Regions from separate parts of the Homo sapiens genome. Here region 2 is linked to region 1. The links are contacts of gene promoters, found by promoter capture Hi-C in blood cells and fetal thymus (Javierre and others, 2016). All regions are on one chromosome and are shown on one strand. Each heading gives the region's core, a stretch centred on a gene start or on the middle of the fragment in contact. The rest is flanking DNA. Distances are from core to core; before and after follow the strand shown. Region 1 holds the start of YPEL1 (yippee like 1). Region 2 holds the start of MAPK1 (mitogen-activated protein kinase 1).

Region 1 (6,659 bases), core at 688-3,187:
ACTTAGTGAAGACAGGCAAGAATCAAGAACAGATGTTAGAGGAACACTGCTCTCAACCTAAAGAAAATAGCTTTATGGTGAGGTATAGCAGCTCAAGCCTGTAATCCCAACACTTCAGGAGGCTGAGGCAGGTGGATCACTTGAGCCTAGGAGTTCAAGACCAGCCTGGGAAACATTAAGTGAGACCCCAGTCTCTACAAAAAAAAATGTAAAGTTAACCAGTCATGGTGGTGTGCACCTGTAGTCCTAGCTACATGGGAGGCTGAGGCAAGAGGATCACTTGGGCTCAGGATGTGGAGGTTGCAGTGAGTCGTGTTTGTGCCACTGCACTCCATCCTGAGCAAGAGTGAGACCCTGTCTCAAACAAAGAAACAAACAGAGAAATGGCTTTATAAATTACAGTGATTCAAAGGTGAAAAGGCTTAATACCCACAGTTTAGTGACAAGAATGCACCCAGGTGTTTTTCATATTGGCAAGTGTACCACAGCAGTGTAGGATGGGGTAAGGATAGGGAGCACTGGGTGTAGGATATATTGGGATTGTCTGTACTATCTTTGCAACCTTTATGTAAATTTAAAGTTTTTCCAAAATAAGAAGTTATTTTAAAAGAAGACTATTGCTCAGATTGGTAATTAAGAGCGCTCAGTTATTATATAAATGCTCAATATGGGCCCAACCCGTAGGGGTTCCCACAAGTAGATGAGACTCTACCCTGTAGGGCCCAAGAGGAAACACCATGAAGGTCCTGGAGATCCTCTTATTCCTCAAACATGCCACTACCATTGCCTCGCAAGAGCCCTGAGGGGGACCAGTGCATGATTGTAAGACAAAATGACATCAGGATTAAGCACAGCTCCTGGCACCTGGCAGGGGCTCAGCAAACATTTGTCACATCTATAGCTTGCTCAGGTGAGGTGCCTGGAAAGTCTCCCCAGTGGTGGTAAACCTAGTCTTGGGACCTGAGTAGGGAATTAGGAGTGTCAGGGGCTGGTGGGTGGGAAGAATAACATTCTTAGCAAAGGAAACATCAGGTTAAGGTGGGTATGTTTTAGATAGAGGAAGAAGAAATGCAACGGAACAGAAAAAGCGTGGGGCGGGGAAATTGATGTCTTCCATGTTCATTATCTGCCTAAAATAGAATCTCAGCCTTTTTTCCATCCTTAGAATTCAGCACATAATTTGGACATCAAAGATGTCAATCAGAGCCAAGCATGGGGGAGGCGGACCCTGTTTAGATCTCTGAAGCTCAGGCTTTTGCAATCTCTGTTAACGAAACCTATGCCACAAGTGGTAAATACCGAGGACGCTCCATTTTAGTCATGATCTTTATGTGGCTACTTGAAAAGCTTTTCCGCCTTTCTGATAAACATTCCTAGGAGACCTCTTTTGCCCTCATTTCCTTGCCCAGTTGAGGCTGTATTTTTTAAGGAAGGAAAATCCAAAAATCAGGGATCTTGTCCATTTTCCCTATCTTTTCACGGCGGGGCGGGAGAAGAGGGACAGCGGGGGAGGTGGAGAGAAGAAACGGCGGGGGAATCAAAGATTAGGCGTTGTTGTCTGTGCCAAAACGGAGTGAGCCCAATATCAACAAATCAAAATCCAAAACGGAACAAAAAAGTCACAGGCCCGCCCTGCTCGCGCCCCCGCCCGCCCGGACGCCCAACAGGTGCTTCCCGGGCCCGCCCGCAGCCACAGTATCCTTGGGTGGCCACAAAGTAACCGCCCGCGCAGCTGCAGCCAGGCCCGCCCGTACTCACGGCCGCTCCGCGGTCCGCGCCCCGGCCCGCAGCGCCCATCCGGCCCGGGCCCCGGTCAGCGCGGGCTCGGCTCTCAGGCGTTCCCGGCGCGGCCCGGGACGCGCTGAGGCCGTTAACGCCTAGGCAGGGCGCGAGGCATCCTCCCGCCGCCGCCCCGCGGGCCGCCTGCCCTTTGTTTTGGAGCCGTAGCCCGGCCCAGACGCCGTTAACAGCCTTGGAGCGCGGCGCCGGCCAATCAGCGCGCCATGTCGCCAGCGCCCCGCCCCCATCCTGCCTCCGTTCCGCCCCGCGTCCCGCCTGCCCCGCGCGCCCCCGCCCCGCGCGCTCCGGGCCAAGGAGCTCCGCCAGCTCGCACCCGGCCGGGACGGGCAGGAGCCCACGTGCCGCGGGGCGCGCCGCACTCCCATTGGCTGACCCGCCGGGCGCGGCCTCGGAGCCAGCCTGTAAGGGCCGAGGGACACGGGGGCGGGGCCGCGCGGGGCGGGGCGAGAGCAGGGGCGGGTTCCGCGAGGAGCGCCGCGCTCGGACGCAGGCTGGCTGGGCAGGGACACTCGGCCGGCGGGGCTGGCGGTGGTGGTCACTCGTTCCTCCGGCTCGCGGGGATGGGCCGAGGGCGTGCAGGGCCCGCAGCTCCAGAGGCTGAGGCGAGCTTGCGCGCAGCCTCCTCGTCCAGCGCCGTGCACGTACCGCCCGTCCGCGCGGTCGGCCGCGTTGTAGGGGACGGACGTGGAGGCCGAGGCGAGCTTGTGTGCGCCTGACCAGGGCCCGCCTTGGCCGGACCCCTCCGCGGCCGGGTCCCCAGAATGCGGTCGTCCGTGCTGTCCCGTCCCCACCACCCTCTCTGAACCCAAGGACCTAACCCCCTAGGACCCCCTCGCCACGGAGGACCCCCCGGGTCTGCGTCTGGCCCCTCGCTCTGCTCCAGGACTGCCGCGTCAGACCCTACAGAAAGCCCCTTCCTCTGGGTAGTGCTCCCGACGCCCCGGCAGCCTGCGCCACCCCCACGCCTCTAATGTCACTGTTTTCTTGGTTCCGTATCCCTTCTTTAAAAAAATATATATTATTTGAAAATAGATATGTATTATTTGAATATATATATTTGAAGGCTGGGTGTGGTGGCTCACGCCTGTAATTCCAGTACTTTGGGAGGCCGAGGCAGGAGGATCATTTGAGCCCAGGAGTTCAAGAGCAGCCTGGGCAACATAGTGAGACACTGTACCAAAAAAAAAAAAAGAAAGAAATTAGGCATGGTGGTGCACACCTGTAGTCCCAGCTACCTGTGAGGCTGAGGCGGGAGGATCACTTGAGCCCAGGAGGTCGAGGCCTCAGTGAGCCATGATCGCGCTACTGCACTCCAGACTGGGTGACAGAGCGAGACCCTTCCTCTTGAACAAAAAAAAAAAAAAAGAAAAGAAAAAAACCAAGAAAACAACAAAACCTCTATTGAGGTCACAATGTATATAACATTGTTATCAGCGTCCTCTGGACGTATTCTCTTGTTTTCTGCAACCCACTGTGTATGTAAAGATCTCTTCAAGTCGCTAAATGTACACCTGACTCATAACTTAGATTGTGGCTGGATGTTGCCTTTTTTTTTTTTTTTTTTTTTTTCCTTGAGACAGGAGTCTCGCTGTGTCGCCCAGGCTGGAGTGCAGTGGTGTGAGCTTGGCTCACTGCAACCTCCTCCTCCTGGGCTCAAGCGATTCTCCTGCCTCAGCCTCCCCAGTAGCTGAGACTACAGTTGCCCGCCACTAGGCCCGGCTAATTTTTGTATTTTTAGTAGAGACGGGGTTTCACCATATTGGCCAGGCTGGTCTCGAATTCCTGACCTCAAGTGATCCGCCTGCCTCGGCCTCCCAAAGTGCTGGGATTACAGGCATGAGCCCACGCGCCCGGCCCCATTTAACTATTTTAAAGTGTACAGTTCACTGGTATTAAATACATTCATAATGTTGTGCAACCATCATCATCATCCCTCTCCAGAACTCATCTTGCCTAAGTAAAGCTCTGGACTCAAGAAACAATGACTCCCGTTTCCTTCTACCCCATGCCCCGCACCACCCCATTCTACTTTCTGTCCCTATGAGCTTGACTGCTCTAGGTGCCTCACATAAGTGAAATCATCTAGTATTTGTCTTTTTGTGGCTTACTGTGACTTTTGTGGCTCATTTCACTTAGCATAATGTCTGCAAGGTTCACCGATGGTGTAGCACTGTCACAGTTTCCTTCCTTTTTTTAGGCTGAATGATATTCCATTGTATGTAGATACCACATTTTGTTTCTCCACGCATCTGTCAGTGGACACCTGGCTTGCTGCTTCCATACTTTAGCTATTGTAAATAATGCCACTATGAACTTGATGGTACAAACATCCCTTGGCACCCCTGGTTCCAATTATTTTGGGTATATACCCAGAAGTGAAGTTGCTGGATCATATGGTAGTTCTATGTTGAATTTTTTAAGGCGATTACATACTGTTTCCCAACGTAACTGCACCATTTCACATTCTCTCCAACAGTGTACAAGGCTTCCAGTTTCTGCACATCTTCACCAACTGTTATTTTCTGTTTTTTGACAGTGGCCAGCCTGGTGCATGATGGGTTTGGTTTGCACTTGCCTCGTGATTAGTGGTGTTGAGCATCTTTCCGCGGACTTGGTGGCGTCAAGTGTTGTTAACTATGACCACGTGACCACATGACCTATTTCATTTTATCTGTACAACGTTTCTGTTTGGGGTGATAAAAAAATTTGGAATTGGTAGTGGGAATGGCTGTACAACAATGTGAATGCCACTGAATTGCACCCTTAAAATTGTTACAATGGGCCGGGTGTGGTGGCTATGCCTATAATCCCAGCACTTTGAGAGGCCCAAGTGGGCAGATCACCTGAGGTCAGGAGTTCAGGACAAGTCTGGCCAACATGGTGAAACCACCGTCTCTACTAAAAAAAAAAAATGCAAAAAAAATTAGCTGGGCGTGGTGGTGTGTGCCCGTAGTCCCGGCTACTCAGAGGCTGAGGCAAGAGAATCGCTTGAACCCAAGAGTTGGAGGTTGCAGTGAGCCGAGATGGAACCACTGCACTCCAGCCTGGGCAACACAGTGAGACTCTGTCTCAAAAAAAAAAAAAAAGTTAAAATGGTGAATTTTGTTATGTATATTTTACCACAATAAAAGTAGTAAAAGAAAGTCTACATTGTGATCTAGTACACATTTGGATGAACAAAAAGTTTCATGATTTAATACATACTCTTATTTATTTTGGGCAATGCCCTAACATTTCTATCCTCCTCTGTTTTTATTAACAAAATCCCAGGCACGACCTTCTGGGTGGCCTTGGGCAGCACCATCAGCCAGGCCTGCAGCCTGCCACCCCCGCCTGCCTTGTGGTCGCACCATTTATAATCCACTTTCCCACAGCCCACTCAGGAACACCACCTTCAAGCTCCAGGGCTCCCTCCCTTTAGCGTCCCAGCTCCATGCCTCAGCATGCCCTCCCACTGGGGGCTGCCCTCCCCCATGCCCACTTCCTCCCTAACCCCTTTCCCACACCCCACCCTCGCCTGTCCTGGAGAAATTCAGCCCCCTCCCCCAACTGGGAAACGCACCACTGCAGCTGGCTGCTTACTTTGGGGACACCAGTTTCTAGGGAAGCCTAGTCCTCCTGAAAACCCTCCGCCTGCTGCACCTCCGGGTCTGTGCAGGTTCCACCATCCTGGAAGATGATATCATGCCTCCTCCCCTCTGCTAACTCTGTGTCCAACTTTACAGAGAACATAGAGATGGGAGAGGACTCCTCCCTGCCCCCACTGCTAAACATCCCATCCTAAACATCTGCCCTGCCTGCTGCCATGAACACGTGGCTCGCCCTTAGTCCTGCCCCCCACGGCTTACTGGGCTGCCCCATCAGGGTAGGAGCCGTGCTCTCAGCTCCACGTACCCTCTTTGGCTATGCCCACCTGCTCTGCAACTCTTCAGGGCAAGATGACACAGAAGGGCCTGGCCTGGGCGCCTCCCATGCCCACCTCCCATTCTCAGGGTTCCATCCCAACCGCTCCAACATCATGTCGCAAAACATCATGTCGTCACATCTGGGCTCAGCCTATACCTTACTGGATGGTCCTACTAGCATTTCCTACAGTGGGGCGCTTTTTAAAAACACTTTCTTCACTTAGATTCTGGGGCTCCACTCTCTTCCTCACCAGCCTCCATTTCCCCACCTGCCCTCACCCTCCTGATGTTGGAGGCCCCAAAAGTTCAGCCCTTAGGTCTCCTCCCTTCCCTCCACTGGCCTGACAGGTGATCTCCACCAAGCTCATTGGCAGTGGAAGACCACATGGAGCCTGCTACTGATCAAGTGTGTTCCTCACCAACCACAGTGGCTCATGCCTATAATGGCAGTACTTTCGGAGGCTGAGGCAGGTGGATCCCTTGAGCCCAGGAGCCCAAGACCAGACTGGGCAACATGGTAAAACCTCCTCTCTCTCTCTGTGTGTGTGTGTGTGTGTGTGTGTGTGTGTGTTTAGCCAAGTGTGGTGGCCACACGCCTGTAGTCCCAGGTACTTGGGGGGCTCAGGAGGGAGGATCGCTTAAACCTGGGAAGTTGAGGCTGCAGTGAGCACTCCAGCCTGGGCAACAGAACAAGGCTCTGTCTCAAAAAAAAAAAAGTGTGTTCCTCAGCACAAACCCTCCTCTGACCCCCGAGCTCTCACCTACAGCTGCCCACTCGCAGTCTCACTTGGAGGTCTACACTTTAAACTCAACACATACCAAACCAAGCCTCTGTCTCCACCAGCTCAATTAAGGGCATTGCCATTTTTCAGGCACAGGCCAAATCCTCAGAGTCCTCCTTGACCCCTCTCTTTCCCTCACATCCCAGGTCCAATCCCTCAGCAAGTTCCCAGG
Region 2 (6,443 bases), core at 1-2,500, 130 kb after region 1:
AAAAAAAACCGTCACTATCATTTCACTTTTCTAAGGGACCTGAATCAAGATGAGGGAGTCTACGTGTGATTCTGCAAGAACTCCATTAAGGCTGCATACATAATGACCACTAAATCATTAACAGGAGTCCATAGCAATTGGGCTAAAACATCTGGGAGCATTTATGCTGGTAAAAGAGCTCACTTGGGGGCTAAAAAAAAAGTCAAATTAGGCCCAACTCTAAACGGATCTTTAACAAATCAAGAGAGTAATGTTAGTTTATCCTTCCTGAAACGCCAGCAGTACGATATTAAAATCCACTTAGAAGTAAAAACTTCAAGACGGAAATATGCCACCAACACTGGCGTCAGTAATCCATTTTAGAAAGCCTGCGCGGAGACCACCATTAGCACCGCTGAGGATATTTAATGAAAGCCGTTGGCTGCAAACAGAGGCGAAGAGAGAAAAACGATTATTTCGGTGTTCTGCACACACGCGGAGGCAAAACGCTTTCAGGACCTCAGCAGCCACCGCCGCCAACACCGACAAGCATCTGATGGAATTCACAGTTTTACAATCGAAAGTCCAAAAGAAGGCCATGATACTAGCAAATTGAGGGGTGGGGACCCTTCCGTTGCCTTCCCGAGGGTCCAGACTTTAAAGGCCGCGCTGCGCCCGGGGCCAAGGGTCCACTAGTACCGGCCTACGCCCCCCGCGCCACTCCCTGAGCCCCTTCCCGAGCGACCGAAGGCCCGGGAACCGCGAGCAACAACACCTAAACCTCAACCGGCCCGGGGCCGCGCCCGAGCCCTGGCGCGCGGACCGCGGTGAAGTCCGGGTTCGAGGTCGCCGCGGCGCCTGAGGCCGAGGCGCGGGCGAGGCCGAGGCTGCGTCCGCTGCGGCCCCGGGCGGTGGGGGGGCCGGGCGTGGCCGGTCGCGGACACTCACCACACCATGCCGTAGGCGCCCTCGCCGATGTACGAGAGGTTGGTGTAGCGCGGCCCCACGTCGAACACCTGCCCGCGGACCATCTCCGGGCCCGCGCCCGCCGCCGCCGCCGCCGCCATGTTGGCTGCCGGGCCGCCGCCGCCTCCGCCGCGCTGAGCTCGACGCTCGGCGGCCGCCGCTCAGCTCTTGTCGCCCCTCCCGCAGGGACTGCGCCGCCGCCGGTGCAGCCGCCGACGCTGACCGGGAGGAGGAAGGAAGACGCCGAGCGGGAGAGCTGAAGAGCCGACAGCCACTCGGACCGATTGCCTGCCTGCCTGCCAGACTGACGGGCGGGCCGGCGGGCGGGCGGAGGGAGGGGCGCGCGCCGAGGAGGGTGCCGGGGCGGGGACAAGAAGTGTGCATGCGGATTGGTTCCTCGCGGCTGGGGGCGGGGCCGCGCGGGCCGGCGGAAGCGGCGGGCTTCGGGAGGGGCACTGCGACGGCGTTGACTGAGGGGGCGCCACTAGGCGCGGTCACGTGCATTCGCGGTGCATTCGCGGGGGCGTCGGTGCGGGTCGCGTCTCTTAAGACACCCAGGGAGACAGACGTGGGGCAGAACTCATGGGCTGAAGTGAGAGATGGCTGGGGCCCAGGCGAGCGACCGAGCAGGGTCCGAACAGAGCCAGCGAGGGACCCCGGGCTGTGCTTGAGGCCCGACGACGCGCCATATCCCGGCAGCGCCGCAGCTCAGGCCTCTGCGAATCTGTGGTCCACACGCTGATAAACTTAGAGGCCTCTGCACTGGGGCAGAAACCGAAAGGCATGACCCAGACCGAGAAAGATATTTGCATACTGAGAAAGTGTGAAACACAATTGTCGAGACTAAAAGGAGACACTGAGAGGATACGCCAATCAGGTTAGTTCAGATGTTTGTTGAGCACACTCCATGTTCCTGGGGATCCACCCTTATAGAAGTTACCTTTTAGAGAGAGGAGACAGACAAATACGTGTAATGCTCAAGTTGTGATAAGTACGATGAAGAAGTACAAAGCAGAAGGGAGGGCGCGGTGTCTCACGCCTATCATCCCAGCACTTTGGGAGGCCGAGGCGGGCGGATCACTTGAGGTCAGGAGTTTGAGACCAGGTCTCTACTAAAAATACAAAAATTAAGTCCGGGCGAGGTGGCTCACGCCTGTAATCCTAGCACTTTGGGAGGCCGAGGCGGGCGGATCACGAGGTCAGGAGTTCAAGACCAGCCTGGCCAACATGGCGAAACCCTGTCTCTACTAAAAATACAAAAATTAGCCGGGCGCAGTGGTGGGCGCCTGTCATCCCAGCTACTTGGGAGGCTGAGGCAGGAGGACAAAGCAGAGAGTAAGGGATTAGGGGGTGGTGGGTCGAAACACATGAGAGATACATTTGCGTTCAGAGACAGACCGAGATTGGTACAGATAGGCAGAAATGCTGACAGAGCAGGTAATGAAATAGAAATGCAAAGATAGAGTCACTAAAACCAAAACATCGAGGTTTAGAGAAAAAGAGACACACCAGGTTAAGAAACAGTCACAAACAACAGAGGTTGAAAAAATAAAAATTAGAGTCCTGAAGCAGGTGGATACCAAGGAAAGCTAAGACAACGAGACGGACAATGACCCAGGCACTGCTTCTGAACCTTTTCCCCTGCCATGTTTGGAGGGAGAAGGAAGAGCGGCAGACCCTATATCCTCTTTGTTCAACTCTTCCAAGTTTAAAACCATCAACTCTTGACTTCTAGACATCAACAAAGATTAATTAGTCAATCTCAAAGGAGAATAAACAAAGTTTTTTGTTTGTTTGTTTGTTTAACTCTCTGGTGGAAGCTGGTGTGGTGGCTCACGCCTGTAATCCCAACTTGGGCCCAAGAATTCAAGACTAGCCTGGGCAACACAGCAATACCCTGTCTCTAAAACAGAGAAACAAACAAACAAAAAATCCTGTGGGGGAAAAAGGATGTGACACATGAGAAAAGGAATAAACTGCTCCAGCCAAAATTTACTCCTTCAAAATATATTTAGCCCATGAAGCAGGACCCAATTTTAGAAAATACCTAATTCTTGAGTTAATGGGTGCAGCACACCAGCATGGCACATGTATACATATGTAACTAACCAGCACATTGTGCACATGTACCCTAAAACTTAAAGTATAATAATAATAATAAAAAGAAAATACCTAATTCTTATTCTCAAAAGAGGACATTGCATATTTTTTTAAAAAACAGGCCAAGATAAATGGAGTACCATGAAATTAAAACCACAATAACCGGCCGGGCGCGGTGGCTCACGCCTGTAATCCCAGCACTTTGGGAGGCGGAGGAGGGCAGATTGCCCAAGCTCAGAAACTGGGGACCAGCCTGGGCAACATGGTGAAACCCCGTCTCTACTAAGATACAAAAAATTAGCTGGGCCTGCCGGTGTGCCTGTAGTCCCAGCTACTCGGGAGGCTGAGGCAGGAGAATTGCTTGAACTCGGGAGGCAGAGGTTACAGTGAGCTGAGATCGCGCCACTGCACTCCAGCCTGGGCCACAGAGTGAGACTCCGTCTCAAAAAAAAAAAAAAAAAAGAGGCCGGGTGCGGTGGCTCACGCTTGTAATCCCAGCACTTTGGGAGGCCGAGATGGGCGGATCACAAGGTCAGGAGATCGAGACCATCCTGGCTAACATGGTGAAACCTCGTCTCTACTAAAAATACAAAAAAAAAAAAAAAAAAAATTAGCCGGGCGTGGTGGCGAGTGCCTGTAGTCCCACCTACTCCGGAGGCTGAGACAGGAGAATGGCGTCAACCCGGGAGGCGGAGCTTGCAGTGAGCCGAGGTCACGCCACTGCACTCCAACCTGGGTGACAGAGCAAGACTCCGTCTCAAAAAAAAAAAAAAAAAAAGTAGACTTGATGCAGAAGAGTACATCAGCAATATAGAAGATAAACATGAGAAAATTTTCAAGAATATAGAACAAAGTGATGGAATCCTGTAAGAGAAGATAATGGGGATGGACAGCATCTAGGGATTCTAACTCTAGGCATCCCCACAGGAAGACAGAGCAAATCGGTTAGAGCGAATAATCAAAATTACAATAGGAGAAAAGTTTCCTTAGGTTGCAAAAAGGTCTGAGGTGGAGGTGGGAAATAGAGTGGGTTCACTGAGATTGAGAAAAATTAAGAAGAAACCAACAACACATAATCTGGGAAAATCATTAAGTTTCAGGGATAAAGAACAGACACTAATAGACCCAATTAGGGAAAAAAATGTTATTTATAAAAAAGCTGGCCAGCAGGCACGGTGGCTCGTGCCTGTAATCCCAGCACTTTGGGAGGCCGAGGCGGGCGGATCATGAGGTCAGGAGTTCTAGACCAGCCTGGCCAACATGGCGAAACCCCATCTCTTCTAAAAATACAAAAATTAGCTGGGTGTGGTGGTGTGTGCCTGTAATTCCAGCTTCTTGGGAGGCTGAGGCAGGAGAATTGCTTGAATCCAGGAGGTGGAGGTTGCAGTGAGCCGAGATCGTGCCACTGCACTCCAGTCTGGGCAACAGAGTGAGATTCCGTCTCCGGGGGAAAAAAAGATGGCTGGGCGAGGTGGCTCACACCTGTAATCCCAGCACTTTGGGAGGCTGAGGCGGGTGGATCACCTGAGGTCAGGAGTTCGAGACCAGCCTGGCCAACGTGGTAAAACCTTGTCTCTACTGAAAATACAAAAATTAGCCGAGCATGATGGCTGGCACCTGTAATCCTAGCTACTTGGGAGGCTAAGGCAGGAGAATCGCTTGAACCCGGAAGGCATAGGTTGCAGTGAGCCGAGATTGCACCATTGCACTCCAGTCTGGGTGATAAGAACGAGACTCCATTTAAAAAAAAAAAAAGCTAAAAACTGGCTTTATTCAGATTTTTCCTCTGCAACACTTAAAAGCCAAAGGAAAATAGAACAAGATTGACAACACTTTGAAGGGGTAGGTTTCGACCCTTCATAGATTCATAGATGGTGGCAAGAACGAGACTCCATCTCAAAAAAAAAGCTAAAAACTGGCTTTCTTCAGATTTCTCCTCTGCAACACTTAAAAGACAAAGGAAAATAGAACAAGATTGACAACACTTTGAAGGGGTAGATTTTGACCCTTCATAGATGATTTCATTCACTCCAGTGCCTTAATTCCTCCTAGATCTTTTTTTTTTTTTTTTTTTTTTGGAAAATTATATATAAAAGGAGACGGGGGCCAGGCGCGGTGGCCCACGCCCATAATTCAGCACTTTGGGAGGCCGAGGTGGGCGGATCACCTGAGGTCAGGAGTTTGAGATAAGCCTGGCCAACATGACAAAACCCTGTCTCTACTAAAAATACAGAAAAATTAGTTAGGCATGGTGGCTCATACCTGTAATCCCAGCTACTTGGGAGGCTGAGGCGGGAAGGTCTCTTGAACTCAGGAGGTGGAGGTTGCAGTGAGCAGAGATCACACCACTGCACTCTAGCCTGAGTAACAGAGTGAGACTCCATCTCAAAAAAAAAAAAAAAATAGAGAGAGACGGGGTCTCACTTGTTGCCCAGGCTGGTTTTGAACTCCTGGCCTCAAACCATTCTCCTACTTCAGCCTCCCAAGTAACTGGGACTATTGGTATGCACCTCCTTCCTCCCAGATCTTTTTTTTTTTTTTTTGAGACAGAGTCTCACTCTGTTGCCCAGGCTGGAGTGTGGTAGGGTGATCTCGGCTCACGGCAACCTCCACCTCCCAGGTTCAAGCAATTTTTCTGCCTCAGCCTCCCGAGTAGCTGGGATTACAGGCATGCACCACCACGCCCAGCTAATTTATTTTTTGTACTTTTAGTAGAGGCGGGGTTTCACCATATTGGCCAGGCTGGTCTCAAACTCCTGACCTCGTGATCTGCCCACCTCGGCCTCCCAAAGTGCTAAGAATACAGGTGTGAGCCACCGTGCCCCTCATTTCCTGGATCTTTATTGCTCAGAAGATCTCTCCTGAATTCCAGGTCAGCATGTCCACCTGCACACAGGACAGCTCCATGTGACATCCCACAGGTGTTTCAGTGCCACAAATTTAAACCACCATTGGTTAACTGCATGAGTTCTGTGCTGAGACTGTTTGAATCTTGGCTGCTCTGCTTACCAGCTGTGTGACCTTGTCCTCATTTTCCTCAGACTTAAAATGGGATCACAATAATGCCTACCTCACATAAGTCTGTTGGACAGAGTACATAAGACAACATATGTGAAGAGCCTGACACATATTATGTTATGTACCCACTAAATGTTATCTGTTACCTACCTCACCTAAACCTGTTGTTTATCTTGTATCTGTGGATAGCATCACCTTCACCCAGACACTTAAGTTGGAGAGTTCACTATAATCTTTAACAACACATTTTACCTCAAGCCTTACCCTGTACCCCATCCAATCAATTATGAACTATAAATTCTGTTTCTTTAATAGTTCAGAAATCTTTACTACCTAAAGTCTGATCTCCAGGCCAGGTGTGGTAGCTCATGTGTGTAATC

The links. The method cuts DNA at HindIII sites, captures the fragments that hold promoters and counts their contacts. A CHiCAGO score of 5 or more calls a contact.
Region 2: the fragment with the promoter of MAPK1 here is called in contact with the fragment with the promoter of YPEL1 in region 1 in 4 of 17 cell types (neutrophils, endothelial precursors, M2 macrophages and 1 more); the score reaches 9.6 in neutrophils.

Annotation. Positions count from the first base shown.
Region 1 is chr22:21,733,857-21,740,515 of GRCh38, forward strand. YPEL1 (yippee like 1) reads right to left here and starts at 1,938. Exons shown (of 5, transcript NM_013313.5): 1 at 1,759-1,938. RefSeq lists silencers at 1,587-1,636, 1,657-2,506. The HindIII fragment of the contact is 25,539 bases long and covers 1,346-6,659 here.
Region 2 is chr22:21,866,395-21,872,837 of GRCh38, forward strand. MAPK1 (mitogen-activated protein kinase 1) reads right to left here and starts at 1,251. Exons shown (of 9, transcript NM_002745.5): 1 at 928-1,251. The coding sequence starts at 1,046. RefSeq lists a silencer at 1,182-1,421. The HindIII fragment of the contact is 41,836 bases long and covers 1-6,443 here.